Linked DNA regions of Homo sapiens: regions 1, 2, 3, 5, 6 and 7 are each linked to region 4. The links are contacts of gene promoters, found by promoter capture Hi-C in blood cells and fetal thymus (Javierre and others, 2016). All regions are on one chromosome and are shown on one strand. Each heading gives the region's core, a stretch centred on a gene start or on the middle of the fragment in contact. The rest is flanking DNA. Distances are from core to core; before and after follow the strand shown.

Evidence for each region. Contacts are between HindIII fragments. The CHiCAGO score rates a contact against its expected background, and 5 or more counts as called.
Region 1: a contact is called between a fragment that was not itself captured here and the fragment with the promoter of ENAM in region 4, in 1 of 17 cell types (monocytes). The highest score is 5.2, in monocytes.
Region 2: a fragment that was not itself captured here is called in contact with the fragment with the promoter of ENAM in region 4 in 1 of 17 cell types (fetal thymus); the score reaches 6.4 in fetal thymus.
Region 3: a fragment that was not itself captured here is called in contact with the fragment with the promoter of ENAM in region 4 in 1 of 17 cell types (naive B cells); the score reaches 6.2 in naive B cells.
Region 5: a contact is called between a fragment that was not itself captured here and the fragment with the promoter of ENAM in region 4, in 1 of 17 cell types (fetal thymus). The highest score is 5.9, in fetal thymus.
Region 6: a contact is called between a fragment that was not itself captured here and the fragment with the promoter of ENAM in region 4, in 3 of 17 cell types (total CD8 T cells, fetal thymus and total CD4 T cells). The highest score is 5.4, in total CD8 T cells.
Region 7: a fragment that was not itself captured here is called in contact with the fragment with the promoter of ENAM in region 4 in 2 of 17 cell types (M0 macrophages and total B cells); the score reaches 5.4 in M0 macrophages.

Annotation. Positions count from the first base shown.
Region 1 is chr4:70,926,424-70,929,123 of GRCh38, forward strand. The region is part of intron 1 of MOB1B (MOB kinase activator 1B); the gene reads left to right. Among named protein-coding and RNA genes, the nearest start is that of MOB1B, 25 kb to the left of the region's middle. The HindIII fragment of the contact is 2,588 bases long and covers 61-2,648 here.
Region 2 is chr4:70,947,624-70,950,323 of GRCh38, forward strand. The region is part of intron 1 of MOB1B (MOB kinase activator 1B); the gene reads left to right. Among named protein-coding and RNA genes, the nearest start is that of DCK, 45 kb to the right of the region's middle. The HindIII fragment of the contact is 3,491 bases long and covers 1-2,700 here.
Region 3 is chr4:71,043,886-71,046,585 of GRCh38, forward strand. No RefSeq gene overlaps it. Among named protein-coding and RNA genes, the nearest start is that of DCK, 52 kb to the left of the region's middle. The HindIII fragment of the contact is 3,381 bases long and covers 1-2,700 here.
Region 4 is chr4:70,627,304-70,630,003 of GRCh38, forward strand. It overlaps ENAM (enamelin), which reads left to right and starts at 1,441. Exons shown (of 9, transcript NM_031889.3): 1 at 1,441-1,661; 2 at 2,138-2,251. The coding sequence starts at 2,198. The HindIII fragment of the contact is 672 bases long and covers 1,420-2,091 here.
Region 5 is chr4:70,989,549-70,992,248 of GRCh38, forward strand. No RefSeq gene overlaps it. Among named protein-coding and RNA genes, the nearest start is that of DCK, 2.8 kb to the right of the region's middle. The HindIII fragment of the contact is 1,907 bases long and covers 355-2,261 here.
Region 6 is chr4:70,969,648-70,972,347 of GRCh38, forward strand. MOB1B (MOB kinase activator 1B) reads left to right here. Exons shown (of 6, transcript NM_173468.4): 3 at 284-377. Among named protein-coding and RNA genes, the nearest start is that of DCK, 23 kb to the right of the region's middle. The HindIII fragment of the contact is 1,406 bases long and covers 640-2,045 here.
Region 7 is chr4:71,092,211-71,094,910 of GRCh38, forward strand. It overlaps a transcript of SLC4A4 not described here. Among named protein-coding and RNA genes, the nearest start is that of SLC4A4, 94 kb to the right of the region's middle. The HindIII fragment of the contact is 2,588 bases long and covers 40-2,627 here.

The DNA.
Region 1 (2,700 bases), core at 105-2,604, 300 kb after region 4:
GGTAACGAATGCTTCTTCCATTGGGTTAATGTGAGACTTGAATGACAGAATGTATATGAAAGCTTTTCATAAACCAGAGTCCTGTATAAACACTGTCATTATCTCCACTCATGAAATTCCCAAGCCCAGTGTATAAACTGTTTGTGCATTCCAGTTTTTTGTTTAGCTGTCTTACAAATGTATGGCATTATTGCATAATAAAATGAACATTTATTGAACACCTCCTGTGTGTAAAAGCGAAGTGTTAGGTGCTTGCTGGTGGTGGGAGGAGAAAGGAAGGGGTTTAGAAATAAACAAGATGTGCCGGGCGCAGTGGCTCACGCCTGTAATCCCAGCATTTTGGGAGGTGGATCATGAGGTCAGGAGATCGAGACCATCCTGGCTAACACGGTGAAACCCCGTCTCTACTAAAAATACAAAAAAATTAGCCGGGCGTGGTGGTGGGCGCCTGTAGTCCCATCTACTTGGGAGGCTGAGGCAGGAGAATGGCGCAAACTCAGGAGGTGGAGCTTACAGTGAGCCGAGATTGTGACACTGCACTCCGGCCTGGGCAACAGAGCAAGACTCCGTCTCAAAAAAGAAAAAAAAAAAAAGAAATAAGATGCGGTCTCTGTCCTCAAGAATCTTAGCACTGGAGACCAGCGTGTTACATAGATGTGCTCCTTAATGGTTGTTTTAAACTCTCAGTTCCAAGTCCACTGGCTAATGATGGTTAAAGACCCTTGCACTGCAAGATATTGCATTGAGTATACAAACTTTCTTGGGTGTATGTGTGAAATAATTGCAGTCTGTGTTCATCAAAAATTAGGAATATAAAGAAAAAAATTGCTGTCAGCCAGGCGCAGTGGCTCATGCCTGTAATCCCAGCACTTTGGGAGGCTAAGGTGGGCAGATCATCTGAGATCAGGAGTTCGAGACCAGCCTGGCCAACATGATGAAACCCCCGTCTCTACTAAAAATACAATAATTAGCCAGGCATGGTGGCACTCGCCTGTAATCCCAGCTACTTGGGAGGCTGAGGCAGGAGAATCGCTTGAACCTGGGAGGCGGAGGTTGCAGTGAGCTGAGATCATGCCACTGTACCCCAGCCTGGGCAACAGAGTGAGAATCTGTCTCAAAAAAAAAAAAATTGCCGTCAATACCACAGTTATAAATATGTGTAGTGCATTCACCTATTCAAAACAGCAAGAATTTTGCCGAATTGAGCTTCCGGTTTTTAGTCAGATGCTGTTTTTATTGTGTGGATGCGGGGGCCTCCCCTGCTTGTTCTTGGCATTGCTGCCACTGCTGTTCCACTTTAGCATCTTGGTTTTTAACATGGAGGGGAAGTGGTAGGAATCCTTCGGTGCACTCGCTTCCTGTAGTTCACTTGGGCATTTCAGGTAGATATTGGAATGGGCTGGAAGTGGTCTGCAAAACTCCAAGGCATAGAAGGCCTCCCTGAGATGTTTGCTTACCACTCCAGCCTCATCCGTGCCTTCCTGCTCTAACATCCCTCCCCCACAGTGTTCAGTGATTTTATTTGCATTTCTCTCAACCTGCTTTGCTCCATCTTTCTGCCTTTGTAAATGCCGTTCCTGTTATTCTGGCTGTTATTCTTCTCCTCCCCACCCCCATTTCTTTAGCTCAGGAGCCAACTTTTTCCCTGGCCTGTGCCCCCTTCCCAGTTTGTTAGATACCATTTCAGTGCCCTTTATAGTCCTTATCATAGTCCTTTCCAAAAAGACATTGTACTCCACCCACTGTCATGTGTATGATCTCTTTGAAGATGGGGCATTTTCAAAAAATGTTTGTTTTAAATCTCTACCACCTAGCATAGTGCCTCTTAGTAACAATTTTTTTTCCTGACTAATCAATGACATTTTCAAGAATTTTGTTTTTTTTTTTTTTGAGATGGAGTCTTGCTGTGTCACCTAGGCTGGAATGCAGTAGTGTGATCTCGGCCCACTGCACCCTCTGCCTCCCGGGTTCAAGCGATTCTCCTGCTTCAGCCTCTTGAGTAGCTGGGATTACAGGCGCGTGCCACCATGCCCGGCTAATTTTTTGTATTTTTAGTAGAGATGGAGTTTCACCATGTTGTTCAGGCTGGTCTCGAACTCTTGACCTCGTGATCCACCGCCTCAGCCTCCCAAAGTGCTGGAATTACAGGTATGAGCCACCACACGTGGCCTGACATTTTCAAGAATTTCATCACGGGTGGTGAGAGTATGAGTGATTCTCCTCAGTCTGTTGTATGTTTTTCCATTGTAAAGATTTTAGGGAAAATATTAAAAGGTGGCTACTGTGCACAGAAGAGTTTAGAATACCTATTTATTGGATTTTTATAATAAAAAAACTTTTTTTTAATAGACACGGGGTCTTGCTATGTTACCTAGGCTTGTCTTGAACTCCTAGGTTCAAGTGATCCTCCCACCTTGGCCTCCCAAAATGCCGATATTACTGGCGTGAGCCCCTGCACTCAGCCTTATTTATTGTATCTTTATCACATAGTTTTGTAGAGACCTTCTTTACAGGATTGTCATATACCAGGCACAAGTTTCCTATTTTCCAATGTGCCCTGTAAATTGTGTTCCCTCTACCAGGGAATGAGAGTGCTCATTTCCCTGCATTCCCACTATCATTGCATCATTAAGAAAAAGAGTCATGAAAGCTTCTTGGACTTTTAAAATTAATGCCAAATAAACAAGATAATAGTAAAGG
Region 2 (2,700 bases), core at 29-2,528, 320 kb after region 4:
TTTTATTTATTTATTTATTTTGAAGCAGGGTCTCACTCTGTTGCCCAGGCTGGAGTGCAGTGGCACAATCTTGGCTCACTGCAGCCTCAACACCCCTAGGCTCCTGCCTCAGCCTCCTGAGTAGCTGGGGCAGCAGGTGTGTGCCACCACACCCAGATAATTTTTTGTAGAGATAGGGTTTCAACATATTGCCCAGGCTGGTCTTGAACTTCTGAGATGAAGTGATCTGCCTACCTTGGCCTCCCAGAATGCTGGGATTACTGCCGTGCACCACTGTACCCAGCCACAGAGAAGAATTTTAAACTTTAATGAAGTCTAATTTATCAGTATTTTCTTTCATAAGATGCTTTTTTATATCTAGAAACTCATCACCAAATTCAAGGTCACATAGATTTTCTTCTATGTTTTCTTCTAGAAGTTTTATAGTATTGTGTTGTAGTTTTAGGTCTATCATCTAATTCATGTTAAGTTTTGTGAAAGGTGCAAGATCTGTGTCTAGATTTATGTTTTTGCCTCTGGATGTCCCAGTGTCCCAAGTAGTAGAGAACTACCACTTGTTGAAAAGATCATCCTTTCCCCATTGAATTGCCTTTCCTCTTTTGTCAGTATCAGTTGACTCTATTTGTATGGTCCACTGTTCACTTTTATAATGACAATTATATTTTTCTTTGTGCCTTAAAAAATGCTTAATTGAGACGTAGTCACATACCTTACAAATCGCCCGTTTAGAGTGCACTGTTTAATACAGTTTTTTAGTAACCATCTCCACAGTCAATTATATTAAAAAGTCAACTTTTTAATCTTACCAGAATTCTTTAATTTTTCAGTTCCCCTCACTGTGGTTAATATCTCTCGACTTGACACCACTTGCTTAAGGAGAACTTCAGCTTCTCCATCCTTCCCTAATTGTTTCTTTTCATAATTGCCTGTTTTTTGAATATAATAGTGTCTCTGTTATTTCTAAAGATACTGATTATATTTAGTATGTTCTTCTTGGTTTTTGTTAGCATTAGATATATTGTTGAGTAGTTCTTTCATGGTGTTGGTTTTCCTGGAATATTTAGTGATTTGGGATTGTCTGCTCAACTTGAGTGTTTGAGGATATTGGTTTGCTTCTTGGTGAATATACTGATTATGGGAGCATACCTCTGGTGACAGGAAGGAGTAGGAACTGCTGCCTAATGTATAGAGGTATGCCAGTAAGTTCTCTTTTGACTGCCAAGTTCCCCTGCCTGCTGGGGTGGTGGTTAAAATCCCTCCCTCCACCATGCTCTGAGCTTCAGCTTAGGCTGTGCTTGCCTACTTCTCAGAAAAAGGCCACTCAGAAGGGTATTGGGATTCACTTGTGCAAAGATCCTGGGTCAAGTTCGCCTATAATCTTCTGGAGATCCCCTCAGGGTCCTCTCCCGTAGTCTAGATTCTGAGTTTGGAGCACAGCAGAATCACTCTTACCTTCATAGAGACCTCTACTGGGCATATCTATGCTAGGTTTTCTCAGACTTCTCAGTCACTATGTCTCATTAACTTTTTAATCTTATAAGAATTCCTCGATTTCTGAACTGCGGATAGCAGATAGTGTTCTTTCTTTTTTTCCAGCCGAGTTAAGGATTTCTTACTCACTTAATGGTAACAATAGTAGCAATACCACCTGCCACTAATAATAGTGATTTAAAAGGGATTATAGGCAGAAATGTAAGTAGATATGTCTGTTCAGACTGCTGTCTGTCTTGAAACAAGGTTATCTTTTCAATACTCATAGCTTTTAGCCTTTAGCTTTTAGTCTTATTATTTCTAGAACACATTCTATTTTGACAGCTTCTAACATTTTTTGCAGATGCATGTCTGCCTTTCTGAAAGCGTGGATGAAAGCCAAATGGCAACATTTGGGGGAAATTGGTGTAGGGTGGAATTTTACTTTTTCTTACTGGCAGAGTATGTGCTAAGTATTCATATAAATTAGAGATGGTATAGGAGGGGAATTAGGTGGTTTGAAGATTAAGATGTATCTATTCCCAGCACTTTGGGTGGTGGGGATGGGGGGATCACTTGAGCCCAGGAGTTTGAGACTAGCCAGGGCAACAAAGTGAGACTTCCTCTCTATAAAAAAATACAACAACAAAATAATTAGCTGGACATGGTGGCGTGAACCTGTGGTCCCAACTACTTGGGAGGCCGAGGTGGAAGGCTAAGGTAGAAAGATCGTTTGAGCTCAGGAAGTTGAGGCTGCAGTGAGCTGTGTTTGTGTCACTGCACTCCAGCCTAGGGGACAGAGTGAACCCTGTCTTCAAAAAAATACATAAATAAAATTACAAAGGGGTGGAGACAAGGGTAAGGAAAAAAGAATGTTTTAAAAATAAGAAAAAAAAGGTGCCTATTAATAACTCTCTTGGTATAAATTAGCCTTGTGTTGTTCGTGAATGACTTGATTAAAATGTGGTGAAAAAGGGAGAAAATTATTAGAAATAATTGGGTAGAAGCTAAAGGTAAAGCATTGAGTAATGTTGGGTAGTGGGTAAAAGTATGGGCTTTAGGCCGAGTGCTGTGGCTCACGCCTGTAATCCCAGCACTTTGGGAGGCTGAGATGGGCAGATCTCCTGAGGTCAGGAGTTCGAGACCAGCCTGGCCAACATGGTGAAACCCCGTCTCTACTAAAAATACAAAAATTAGCTGGGCGTGGTGGTGGGTGCCTGTAGTCCCAGC
Region 3 (2,700 bases), core at 161-2,660, 420 kb after region 4:
ATATCATCTCACACCTGTCAGAATGGCTGTTATCAAAAAGATGAAAGACTACATGTGCTGGTGAAGATGTGGAGAAGGGAGAACCTTTGTAAACGGTTGATGGGAATGTAAATTAATACAGCCATTATGTAAAATTATGGGGTTTCCTCAGAATACTAAAAATAGAATTACTACATGATGGGGATTGATCTAAGATGGCCAATTAGAAGCAGCTGTGGTCTGCAGCACTCATGGAGAGGAATGAAGAAGGGTGAGTGAATTCAGCACCTTCAACTGAAATATTCAGGTTCTTGCATTGGGACTGCTAGACAACCCAATACAGAGAAGGAAGAAAAGTGGGGGGTGGGGAAGGTGATGGCCCACCTGGGAGTGGCACAAAGCCAAAGGAATCCCCACCCCCAGCCAAGGGAAGCAGTGAGTTATTGTGCGACTACTCTTAGGAAACCACACTTCTCCCACGAATCTTTGCAGCCTGCATGCATTAGTCCGTTGGCGGCTCACACCTGTAATCCCAGCACTTTGGGAGGCCAAGGCGGGCAGATCACGAGGTCAAGAGATCGAGACCATCCTAGCTAACATGGTGAAACCCCGTCTCTACTAAAAATACAAAAATTAGCTGGGTGTGGTGCCACACGCCTGTAGTCCCAGCTACTTGGGAGGCTGAGGCAGGAGAATCGCTTGAACCCGGGAAGGGGAGGTTGCAGTAAGCCAAGATGAGGCCACTACTCCAGCCTGGCAACAGAGTGAGACTCTGTCTCAAAAAGAAAAAAAAAAAGAAGAAAGAAATACCCCCGAGACTGGGGAATTTATAAAGGAAGGAGATTTAATTGACTCACAGTTCCTCCTGGCTAGGGAGCCCTCAGACAGCTTACCACCATGGTGGAAAGGGAAACAGGCACCTTTTCCACAGGTGACAGGAGGGAGAAGTGAGAGCACAGGTAAAAACTACCACTTTCAAAACCATTAGAGTTCATGAGAATTCACTCACTGTCACAAGAACAGCACGATCTTGTGATTCTACCACCCTCATGATCCAACCACTTTCCTTCAACATGTGGGGATTACAGGTCCCTTCCTCGATATGGGGGGATTATAATTCAAGATGAGATTTGGGCAGGGACACAGAAGCAAATAATATCACTGTGGATAAGGAGATCCCCTCATGAGCCCACGCCACCAGGGCCTTGGGTCTGATACACAGAGCTGTGTGAAGTCTTGGCAGAGCACCTGCTTACATATAGAGACCCAGGAGTTTTACATATTCCGGCCCTGGGATCTCCAGCAAGGCAGGAAATTCATCCGTACATATCCCTGGGAAGGGGAGACTGAATCCAGGGAGCCAAGCAATGTCGTTCTATGGGCCCCACTTCCACAGCACCTCACAAATTAAGACTCACTGGCTTGGAATCCCAGCCAGCCAATGGCAGCGGGTTGAAATCCACCTGAGATGGGTCCAAGTTCCCAGGGGAATGGGTGGCTGCCATCTCTGCGGTTCCATCAACTTAGCTTCTCTAGCCTGCTGACTGTGGAGAATACAGACAGTCTGGGAGGAAGGGTCCCCCATAGTGCAGCACAGCTGCCTTGCCAGATTGTGGCCAGACTGCTTTAAGCAGCACCTGGATCCATTTCTCCTCACTGAGCAGGATCTCCCTGCAGGAGCTTCAACGACTCCAGCTAGGGTTCTATGGACAGAGCTCTGATCTCTCCCTGGGATGGAGCTCCTGTGAGGAGGGGTGGATGTCATCTCTGCGGTTTGGTGGACTCAGCCACTCCAGCCTGTCAGCTTTGGAGATTGCAGGCAGTTTGGATGAGGAAGTGTGCCCCTTAATGCAGCACAACTGCTCTACCAAAAAACAGCCAGACTGCTTCTTTGGGCAGGTCCCTGATCCCATTCCTTCTGACTGGGTGAGACCTCCCAATGGGGGTTTCCAGACATCTCCTATAGGTGCGTGCAGGCTGGCAACAGGTCAGTACCCCCTGGGATAGAGCTTCCAGAGAAAGGATCTGGCTGTCATCTTTGCTGTTTCATGGCCTTTGCTGGTGATACCTCCAGGTACGGGAGAATGAGGCAACTGGGGTATGGAGCGGACCCCCAGCAAACCACAGCAGCCCTATGGTAGAGTGGGCTGACTGTTAAAACAAACAAACAGACACAAAACAACAACAATGACAAAGACCCCACAAAAACCTCATTCACCATGTCAGAAACCTCAAAGATTGAAGGTAGATAAGCCCACAAAGATGAGAAAGAATCAATGCAAACATGCTGAAAACTCAAAAGGCCAGAGTGCCTTTTCTTCTCCAAATGACCACAACACCTCTCCAGCAAGGGCACAGAACTAGGCTGAGACTGAGATGGTTGAATTGACAGAAGTAGGCTTCAGAGGTGTGTAATCATGAATTTCACTGGGCTAAAGGAGCATGCTGTAACCCAAAGCAAAGAAGCTAGGAATCATGATAAAACAATACAGGAGTTGATAGCCAGAATAGCCAGTTTAGAGAGGAACATAGCCAACCCAATGGAGTCGAAAAACACAACACAAGACCTTCACAATGCAATCACAAGTATCAATAGCAGAATAGACCAAGTGGAGGAAAGAATCTTAGAGCTTGAAGACTCTTTCTGAAATAAGACAGAGAAGAATAGAGAAAAAAGAATGAAAAGGAATGAACAAAACCCCCAAGAAATATAGCATTATG
Region 4 (2,700 bases), core at 191-2,690:
TTTAGAAACATGAATTATTTCATGACAACTAACCACCCTTGTGGCCAAGAGAACAAGGGTAAATAGAGGAAAGTGATCAAAAGTGAGGTTTAGTGGCAACTCCCAACAACCTATATGGGTAAGGCCAAAATCAAAAATTACCCTCTACATGAATGGGCACAGGATAGGCCAGGTCATCCAGCATCAGAACTCCCATTTCACTTCCAAGAACACACTGTAGGTCACTGTCCCGTAAGTGTCCTACCATTTGCAAATTCATCTCAATGTGCACACAATATGATAAATACTACTCAGTTTCTACAAAATCAGACAAAGGCAAGCAGGTACTTGAAGCAGATTTAACTTTGCACATCTTGGATACACATAGAGTTAAAAGATAGTCCTAGCTTCATTTAAAGTCAAATATTCTAGCACATTTTTATTATTTGTGGCACGAAATATGTGGAGCAGAGAGGCACTGAGAAATACAATGCTATTTGGCCCAAAAGGAATGACACAGCACTTCTCTGTCCTTGGAAGAACAGCACCATGGGCAACCACTGGATTAACTTATATACACAATCATACCAAGTAGGAACAGGTTTTGCCATCAAGTTCATTCATTCTTGGTTTTTAAATCCCAACATTAAAATAAGCAAACATTGCCACAACAAATGTTTTCTCTTGTGAAGCCATAAGAGAACAGGAGAATCCAAGTTAAGCAAAGATAGCAAAGCTTGCTCTTGTCAATTAAAAGTGCAATTGGCCTATCTATTTGAAAGTGAAATCTTTATTATGGAAAGTCAGATTTCAGGAAAAAAATCCATAACATAACTGTTTCATTAAATTACTCAGGTCCTATTTTCATTAAGTTGTATTATCATAATAGCTGAGAGTTCATTTGCCATTGTACCCAACTCATCTAAAATTCTGAATCCCCAGTGACTGGATTATATTTGACTTCAAAAAGAACACTATGTCCTGCTAGCCTTATGTAATACAAAGTAAATCAAGTCACTGAGTTTTCACCCATGGATATAACATTCCAGTTCATTTTAATTACATATAAAATGTATATTAAGTAAATATATATATTAGCCTGCCTTTTGATGAAGGCAACTGACTTATGACAATAGCATACAGTTAATATTCGCCTTTGTTCCTGAAATATCTTTGTTATAAACATAGTTTCTATACTTTGAAAGCCAAATTCACCAAGGGAAGCATCTTCTAAATCTTACTGCTGTAAGCTCATTTTCCTGGACTGTTATTATACGTAATAAGAGACTTGACTTGACAGCTCCTATAATAACACATTCTAAATTTTAAATTCGATGTGTGTTTTTTACCTTAAACTCTTGTGATGACAAAACCATTTTCCTCAAAGCTGATTGGTTATGCAGGTCTACAACAGTGCTTAAATGGAACCTTGCTGTGCCAAGCTTTCTGACAAGGAGGAATCTTTTTATTTTGAGCCTTTTTGATACTGAACATGATATCTGAGTGAAGAATTTTTGTTTTATTATTAAGAAATAAATGTATCTTGCTTCTTGAGATCTCCCTGGCTTCAGCAATTTGTAGTTATTTCCACTATAGACCATTAAGAATATATTTCAAAGGCAAGCTAACAAAGTTCAAGTAAAAATTATTTTTTATATATTACAGCTTCTAATTGGCATTGGGTGAGTATTAGAGATTATCAACATAAATTACATATAGTGTCAAATAATGAATTTAATTCATAGATGTTGGTTAATTCTCCTTATTGCATTCCTTCTTGTTGGTTGTATAATCATTGTATGCAGACTAATCTTCTGATAAAACTTTAAACTCCTTGGTTTATTTGGTGTATTTGTTTTTCTTGTAAGTTTTTTCCAGCCTTCTTAGACCTCCTTTACTACTGTGACTTTGTACATTTCCCCATAGTGAAGTCTAGTTTTGTCAACATCGCCCTAGAAGTATCTCAAAATACAGTGCCTGTGTCATTTCCTCTCTGATTTAGCTTTCATCCTACTTTTAAAGCAACAGAAGATTAAACTTGATTTTGTGGCCCCCTAATACAGGTATGACTGGATAAAATAATTAACATGACATGTGCTGCCTTAGAACTGAAGCTTTGCTATTCATTTCATTTATTTGTTCCATTTCTATATTTTAGTTTCTTCTCAGGTTAAAGCTGTATTTTTCTTAAAGGCTTATAAAAATTTTGCTGAAAAAAATGTTGGTGCTTCGGTGCAGGCTTGGAACCTCTTTTCCTAAACTAGATAACTTGGTGAGTACTTTCATTTATTTTTGCCAATACATACAGGTTCTCAAACTAGATACTGTCAGAAATACACTTGAGAGGGCCAAACACTACTGAAATGTATCAGAAGACTCAAAGAGCATCTGCTTTCACAGATGGAATGGAAGAAGAACTTACACAGTCATTGTACTTTGTGGCAATCATTATGAGTGTTACTTTCAACTCAAAAAATAACTAATTATAGACTTTAATCACTAACTTTTAGAGATGGAAGGGATCTCAGTCATCCAACATAATATATTAATTTTACAAAAGAGAAAATGAGTTTTCTATTTGCAAATATAAAGGCTACATATATTATCAAGAATCACTGTGACAGCTACTAGAGAGATGAGATGAATGATTAAGCAAGGCAGAAATTAACCATCCAAAAGCACCCTTAAATCTTGGGCCATAATCTTAGAAACATTTAGCAA
Region 5 (2,700 bases), core at 58-2,557, 360 kb after region 4:
TCTGCAATGAGCATTTTGCAACACAAAGATTCTAATTAATTATTCCTCTAAGGTTTAAACAACCATGTTTAGTAGAAGTTTTACTAAGAAATTGTACATGCTCCTGTTACAGCATGATGAATACAGTGTCACATTTTCTTGATGACCTCAGTCCACTTCACAAGCATGTAGTAAAACAGCTTTCTTTGCTAAGCTGTATACATCTGATGGCTCCTATGCTCTTCTAGTATGTTATTTTGCTTTCAGATTTCAGATTTGCAGGAAGCACACTGACTCCCACTCTTGCATTTATGATGGCTTCTGTACCCCGTTTTCTAGGCACTAATGAAGATTACAAGGGGAAATTTATAACCAAGCTTATTAAGTTGATAAATATCATTTTACAGAAGTAGTTGAGTTTGTGTAGACAAACTCATGGGCTGTGTAACCACTACTTAATGTTCAGGGTCTCTTATTTTTTCTGCTTTTTATTATTTTCTGGGTTGATTTAGTTTTCCTAATAAACCTGTATGTTGTCAGTCAGAACGCTGTCTCATTCTTTAGTTACACTAGAATTCCCACAGGAGAAAATTCCCAAATTGAAGGAGTAGTAAAATTTCTGGTAAGAAAGGATTAGGTGGCAGCACGATCATGACTGGCTGGGTGCGCTGTATCCTGTCTCTTATCTGCAGTTTCAAAACCTGAAAAGCTCAGAAAACCAAAATTTTTTTGTTTGTTTTTTTGAGACGGGGTCTCACTCTCATCCAGGCTGGAGTGCAGTGGCATGATCTTGGCTTAATGCAACTTCCGCCTCCCGGGTGCAAGCGATTCTCCAGCTTCAGCCTCCCGAGTAGCTGGGACCACAGGCACACACCACCACGCCCGGCTAGTTTTTGTATCTTTAGTAGAGACAGGGTTTCGCCATGTTGGCCAGGTTGGTCTCGAACTCCTGAACTCAGGTAATCTGTCCATCTCGGCCTCCCACAGTGTTGGGATTACAGGCGTGAGCCACCGTGCTTGGCCCCAAAGGTATTTTTTTTGAATTCAGTGCAAACTTATTCTGACCAGATGTTAATAGTCTTTATCCCACTTCATGTTAACACTCTTTGTTTCACTGCAAAATATTAGTGCATTTGATTTAACACCTCTGCAGGGGGAGTGGGGGTGCTTACTTAATAATTAATATACAGTATATGCACTGTATCGTTTCTAAAGTTTCGATTCCAAATTTTATTATTGAGACGGGGTCTTGCTGCTGTGTCACTCAGGCTGGCATGCAGTGGCGCGATCATAGCTTACTAAAGCTAAAACTTTGCAGGCCCAAACCATCCTCCCACCTCAGCCTCCTGAGTAGCTGGGACCACAGGTGTGTGCCACCACAACCAGCTAATTTTTGTATTTTTTCTATTAGTTTCGCCATGTTTCCCTGGTTGGTCTCGAATTCCTGAGCTCAAGCATTCCAGAGTACCTCCCAAAGTGCTGGGATTATAGGCAAGAGCCACTGCGTCCAGCCAGTTCCAAAGTTTAGAATTTCTTTTCTAAAAATCTTTTCTAAAAGTTTTAAATTCTGAAACATCTGGCTGCCAGGGTTTTAGATAAGAGATTGTGGACCAAAAATCAAGATGTTTTGAAAAGTGCTTTTCTCTGTTCTCTCCTTGTGTTACCCCCAGGTCATGTAGGAAAATGGGAAATTATGCTGGACTTAATGCCAAAAAAGCTAGATTCTTTGCTTCCCCCATTTACTTTGTTGTTGTTAGTTGAGACAGGATCTCACTGGAGTACAGTGGCATGATCTTGGCTCACTGCAGCCTTGACTCCCTGGCTTCGGTAATTCTCCCACCTCAGCCTCCCAAATAGTTGGGACTACAGGCGCCTGGCTAATTTTTCTATTTTTTGTAGAGACAAGAGTTTTGCCATGTTGCCCAGGCTAGTCTCAAACTCCTGGGCTCAAGCGATTCACCTGCCTCGGCCTCCCACATTTGTATTTTTCAAAGTATACTCTTAAGCTCAGATGAATTCAAGTTTTTGCAGCCAGAAACTGGTAGAACTGGTGTTTGAAATCTTTCATTTTCCAGTGCTTAAACTCTTCATCATTGTAAGATACTTCTTGTGTGGGTCTTTTTTGTGGAAACCACACTTGGAGATTTCTACTCCTTAACCCCAAGCCTCTTTATGACATCCATCCAGGACCAGCTCTGCTTTCCTGTTGAAGGTCTCAAGAGACTTGCCTTCCTCCTCTCGGTAGCTGCCAGTACTCTTACCATTTCATGAGTTTTCCCCCAAGCTTGGCTGTGAAATGTGATACCTATTAGCTTCCGCAGCACCTTTCTCCCAACTTCCTTGCTATACCTGATGACAACTCTTCAGGCCTCTTATATTCCTAGGATCTTGCTATTAATCACTATAGGGATAAGTAAAAGTAATATATACAAAATAATTGCATAACAGAATAATATAGGGCAGTTACATAGAATGATTCTTGCTGTTTAATCCTGGAAAATGTGATCCCCGAGGATTCACATTTTAATTTCTGCTCTTTATTTCTGAGGATGGAGTCACCGTTTTCCCCTTCTGGCTACACATTTAGATGCATTTCAGGTCTGATGATAGTTGCAATGTAAAAAAGAATAGCAAGGCCTTTGGTTTCTGTAGACAATTTGGACCAGATAACTTCCAGACTGGGTAATATCCGGTTTATTAGTGTTACTGGATGGGAAGTCT
Region 6 (2,700 bases), core at 93-2,592, 340 kb after region 4:
ATTGATCTATATGAGTTCTTTATCTATTCTAGATATAAGATTTCTGTTGTTTGTATGCGTTGCAAATAATCTCTTCATCTCTATGCTTGCCTTTTTGCTCTCAAGGGAGTCGTTTGATGAACACAAGCTCCTCATTTCAATGTATTGATACTTCTGTGTATGGTTTTCACCTGTTCTTTGTAGGGGAACGAACGCCAATAAGCCTATTCTGTTCAAGTACAATTAAAATTTCATTTTAAATTTAGCCATTCTGTTTTACTTACAACTGATACTTGCTTTACAGCTGTGGATTTCTTCAATCAGATCAACATGCTTTATGGAACTATCACAGACTTCTGTACAGAAGAGAGTTGTCCAGTGATGTCAGCTGGCCCAAAGTAAGACATAGTTAATGATCAGTTTCTTATTTTTACATTATTTTACGGTTCTTAAAGAAAAACGAAGTTTCTGACCATATGATTTTTCTACTTATCGTCTCTTTCTGAGGTTTGCCAGTGACTATTAATCTAGATTCCTTAGCTTGGGGTTTGTGACTGTCCATCTTGCCTTTCCTCTGTTTGCTTATGTGTCTTCTCTAGTCTGTCCTAACTGGATTACTGGAAATACCTTGCTGTTCCCTCCATTACGTACTTCTCTGGAAGCTTGCTTATTCTCTTCTTCTCTTGGACATTTTTCTTCTCTCCCATTTCACTCCTGTCATTTTCTGTCAATATTTCAAAAAATCTTACTGATCTTCAATTCTATTATCAAATATTTCTCTGTCAAAGCCTTCTGATTTCATCAGACTAACTTTTTTTACCTTTGTAATGAAATTTGTTTGTTATATTTCTTACACTATTCATATATGTTTTATTTAACCTGTTGGATTTGTTCTTTTAATTCCCTTTTGGTGCAAGGACAGAGCTTGCCACCTTGTTTTAACACCCAAAAAATGTGGGTTGAATCAGTACATTTTGGAAACTGGCTTTTATTATTACTTCTACTAATAATAGCAATGACAGTTACCATTTATTTAGTGGTACCTAAATGTAAGGCCTTTCATACATGTTTTTTACATCATATGTCAACATTCATTATAAGAATATTGCTCTATGCATTGCCGTAGACTCAAAGAATTTAGTCAAATGATCAAAGAGCCCGTAACAGAAGTATAATATTGTAGCTCAGGAAAAATATGGAGATACCATATGAAGAGGTAAAAGAAGTTGGCAGTTCTCAGTAAAGAGAAAGGAAGACTGCACTAGGAAAGACACAAAGCTGTGTTTGAACCTTCACTTCTTTCTAGCCCATGGAGATGAGTATAGCTGCAGAGCTATTCAAAATCTAGCGTCTGTCAATTCCCTTCCTCCATTTACACCTCTTCCTGCAGAAGTATGTTTGTGGTTTTTACCCGTCACGGGACTGTTTACTTTGGAGAAACGTCTTCTGTGGACTTTGTATGGGGTTTGTAGTTGCAGGTGCATCTTTTGTTCTCTCCTCACCCTGTTTGAACTTATATGAACTGTCACACTCCCCACCTCGCCTTTTTGAAAAGTCTAGTCAAGATAGTCCCTTTAAAAAATAATGTGGTTTAGGCTGGGCATGGTGGCTCACGCCTATAATCCCAGCACTTTGGGAGGCTGAGACTGGCAGATCATCACCTGAGATCGGGAGGTTGAGAGCAGCCTGGGCAACATAGTGAATCTCGTCTCTATTAATAATAGAAAAATTAGCTGGGCGTGGTGGTGTGCATCTGTAATCCCAGCCACTCAGGCAGGAGAATCACTTAAACCTGGGAGGTGGGGGTGAGGTTGCAGTGAGCTGAGATCGTGCCAGTGTGTGTACTCCAGCCTGAATGATAGAGTGAGACTCTGTCTCAAAAAAAAAAAAAAAAAAGTAATTTAAAGACATAGGTGTCTCCTAGTTTTATCATCAAAGCTAGAGTGTGAATTTCTGTTACTTGTTATTTCGGGAAGATTTATTAGAGGAACGGGGGCATTTAGAAATGAAATCAGTCCCCCTTTAGTATTAATTCTTGCCAGTATTACTGGTGTTCACTTTGGTTAAGCTTCACTTGTGAAAATAGATGTCTTTAATTTTTCTATTCTGTGGTTAGTTATGCCTTGAGAAATTAAATAGCACTGCCTTCTAAGAAAGCCAGTTCTTCTGGCTTGAGAGCTGTTTGTCTCTGCTCCTGTATGCATGCATGTGTGCGTACATAGTGTTAAAGCTGTGTGGTCTCCTGCCTGCGTGTCTGCTTCCCTCTCTTTCTCTTCTTTCTTCCTTCTTTCCCTTCCTTTCTCCCTCCTTCTTTCTTCTTTCTCTACGTCTCTTTTCTTCTTCCTTCTCTTCTTGTCTTTCCTCCCTCTCTTCCTTTCTCCCTTTTTTTTTTTGGGGAGAATCGTGACATTTCCCAGTCATTAGTGCTAAGAAGATGTAGTTGTTGTCATAGTTCTTCATTTTTACCAGCAGATGCAGGATTGTGCCTAGGAGAGGCATTTGTTAATACTTAATAAATGCTAAGCCCCTTGCAAAGTGGTATTGAATGATGGCTCGTAGAACTTTGTTCTCAGATACTGTTTTTTTATTTTTATTTTATTTTTTTGAGACAGAATCTTGCTCTGTTGCCCAGGCTAGAGTGCAGTGGTGCGATCTTGGCTTACTGCAACCTCTGCATCCTAGGTTCAAGAGATCTTCCCTGCCTCAACCTCTTGAGTAGCT
Region 7 (2,700 bases), core at 84-2,583, 460 kb after region 4:
TGGACTGCAATTTCTATTCTAAAGCTCATTTTAAGTAGAAGCTTCTCTTAACTTAGAGAAGTAAAATTCATATGGTTGATGGATTTCAATAGATTTCTCTCTTTTTATATTTCACTAGGATTCTATTTTTCCTACATTTTCTTATACAAACTTTTTCATGTTGACAGATATTTTAAAAATGAATATTGATATTTACATATTCCAAACCCTAGTAAGAATTAGTAGATAAATTTATAGAAGTTCATAAGGAGATATTTGTCGAGACAGTTTCCTATACATTTTCTAGGAAGAAATATTTGATTTTAAGTATTTTGGGGGTTACTGGGAATTTGCACGTCATGTTACATCAGAAAAAACACTGCAAAAACCTAAAAACAGAATGCTGAGAATAGAACCTGAAAGGAGGGCAAGAAGAAGAGATTCTTACATGGGTTTAGGTAATTTGAGGTATCATACTATCACTAAGAGTTTTTGTATTATTTGAGATACATCAAGTAATTGTTATTTTTCTTTTTACAGATACCCATAATTGTGTTGTAACTTCTTCTGGCTATAAACCTGAGCACTGATGCTTGACCTATTGTAAGTAAGAAAGTCATATATGGGCCGGGTACAGTGGCTCACGCCTGTAATCCCAGCACTTTGGGAGGCCGAGGCTGGCAGATCACAAGGTCAAGAGATCACGACCACCCTGGCCAACATGGTGAAACCCCATCTCTACTAAAAATACAAAAATTAGCTGGGCGTGGTGGCGTGCGCCTGTAGTCCCAGCTACTCGGGAGGCTGAGGCAGGAGAATCACTTGAACTCAGGAGGCGGAGGTTGCAGTGAACCGAGATCACGCCACTGCACTCCAGCCTGGGTAACAGAGTGAGACTTTGTCTCAAAAATAAAAATAAAATAAAGTCATATATGGCAAAAACCAGTCTTGTATTTTGACCTCTTTTGTTTTTTCTTTTCTTTTTTTCCTTTTTCTTGAGACAGAGTCTTGCTCTATCACCAGGCTGGAGTGCACTGGCGTCATCTTGGCTCACTGCAATCTCTACCTCCCAGGTTCAAGCAATTCTCCTGCCTCAGCCTCCCGAGTAGCTGGGACTACAGGCATGCACCACCATTCCCAGCTAATTTTTGTATTTTCAGTAGAGACAGGGTTTCACCATGTTGGCCAGGCTGGTCTTGAACTCCTGACCTCAAGTGATCTGCCTGTCTCGGCTTCTCAAAGTGCGGGGATTACAGGCGTGAGCCACTGCATTGGCCTATTTTTACCTCCTTTCTGTCTTTACTTTAAGAAAAAAAGATTTAAATCATAAATAGTTAGGGATAGAAAAACCTTTTTGTTCTGTAAGTGAATATCCTGACTTGTTTTGAATTGATAAACTGCCTAAGTTTAGCTTCAGCAATTTAAACTCCCAGAGTTCTTCTTGTGATACTGGTGGGTACTCAATAAATGATTGCTATTGTTGTTGTTGGTAAAATAGGTGAAAAATGAGCGTGGAGATGCATTTTCCCCCTTTGTGTCTTGATATTAAAGTTTTTCTTTTCAAACCATTATAGGGACCTACCTATTTGTTGGTCTTACAATGGTGGGTCATTTTGCATCCTATTATAATTTGCTCCAAATAAAATAGTTTTTATCTTCAAATAGAAACAAACTGGAGAGAAGTAATGAGACACCATTTGGGATTGTTGGCAACTTTAAATGTTCGAAAAATGAAGTCACAAAAGCAGGAGAACAAAAAGCCTCACCCTGGCTGATGAGATTATTTAACCAGCAGTTGGTGTTGGCACCAGATTATCAGCCAGACTGTTAAAAAAAAAAGTGCTAGGGGCTGGTAACCCTGTCCTCTGTGGGAAAAAAATCTAAAATATGTCCCTTATTAAACATTTTGGTACACAGATTTCCCTTATGAATTTCTGATTAGAAGAAAATATGAGGATATGGCATGGTAAGCCACGAGTGGCATACAGTCATAAAATGTAGTGGTCATCTTCAAGGGAGTTTTATCTTTTGACAATATCAAGTTTTGTTTCATCAGGGTGTCTTGTCCTGCCTGGTTCAAATCACCTATGGCTCACATATTGATGATCAGAGAGAGAGAGATTCCAGGGAAAATGTATTGGAAAAGTACTTCTAAGAGCTTCTCCAGAGTAGAGTGGCATGTACAGATCCTTTTCCAAATACTAAGCACTGTGTGTCTATTTTTGGCATTACATTATAAATAGGCCTCCTGCTTATTGTGATACAGGAAAAATACTTTCAAGGAGATTTACATTCAGCTCTACCATGTTGTAATATTTAAGGCTGCAGTACTTTTATAGGTAATGCTAATTTGCTGGTGAGGTTTATTAGCTTTGTGAGTCTCAGCTGGTAGATGTAAGGATATGTAGTTAGGGGAAGCTCTAGGATTTTCTTTGACAAATCCCAATATGTTAACAGGAAATATTAGCCACATGCAGTATGGCTAATAAAGTTCTCTATTCCTTGTTTTTTAAAAAATATACCATTTCACACTTTTGGGGGATTACCAGAAGCTGGATGTTTTGTGTTAAAGTATGTGTGTGGTTCACGAGTCCTCATTTTTCCAGGACAAGAAAGGTCTCTCTGTCTTCTCCTGCAGTCTTCAGTGAAGCTTCAGAGCCAAGCTCTATATTTTCCAGGGGGAGTCTGTTGATTTTTGTTATATATATACACATCAGTTTT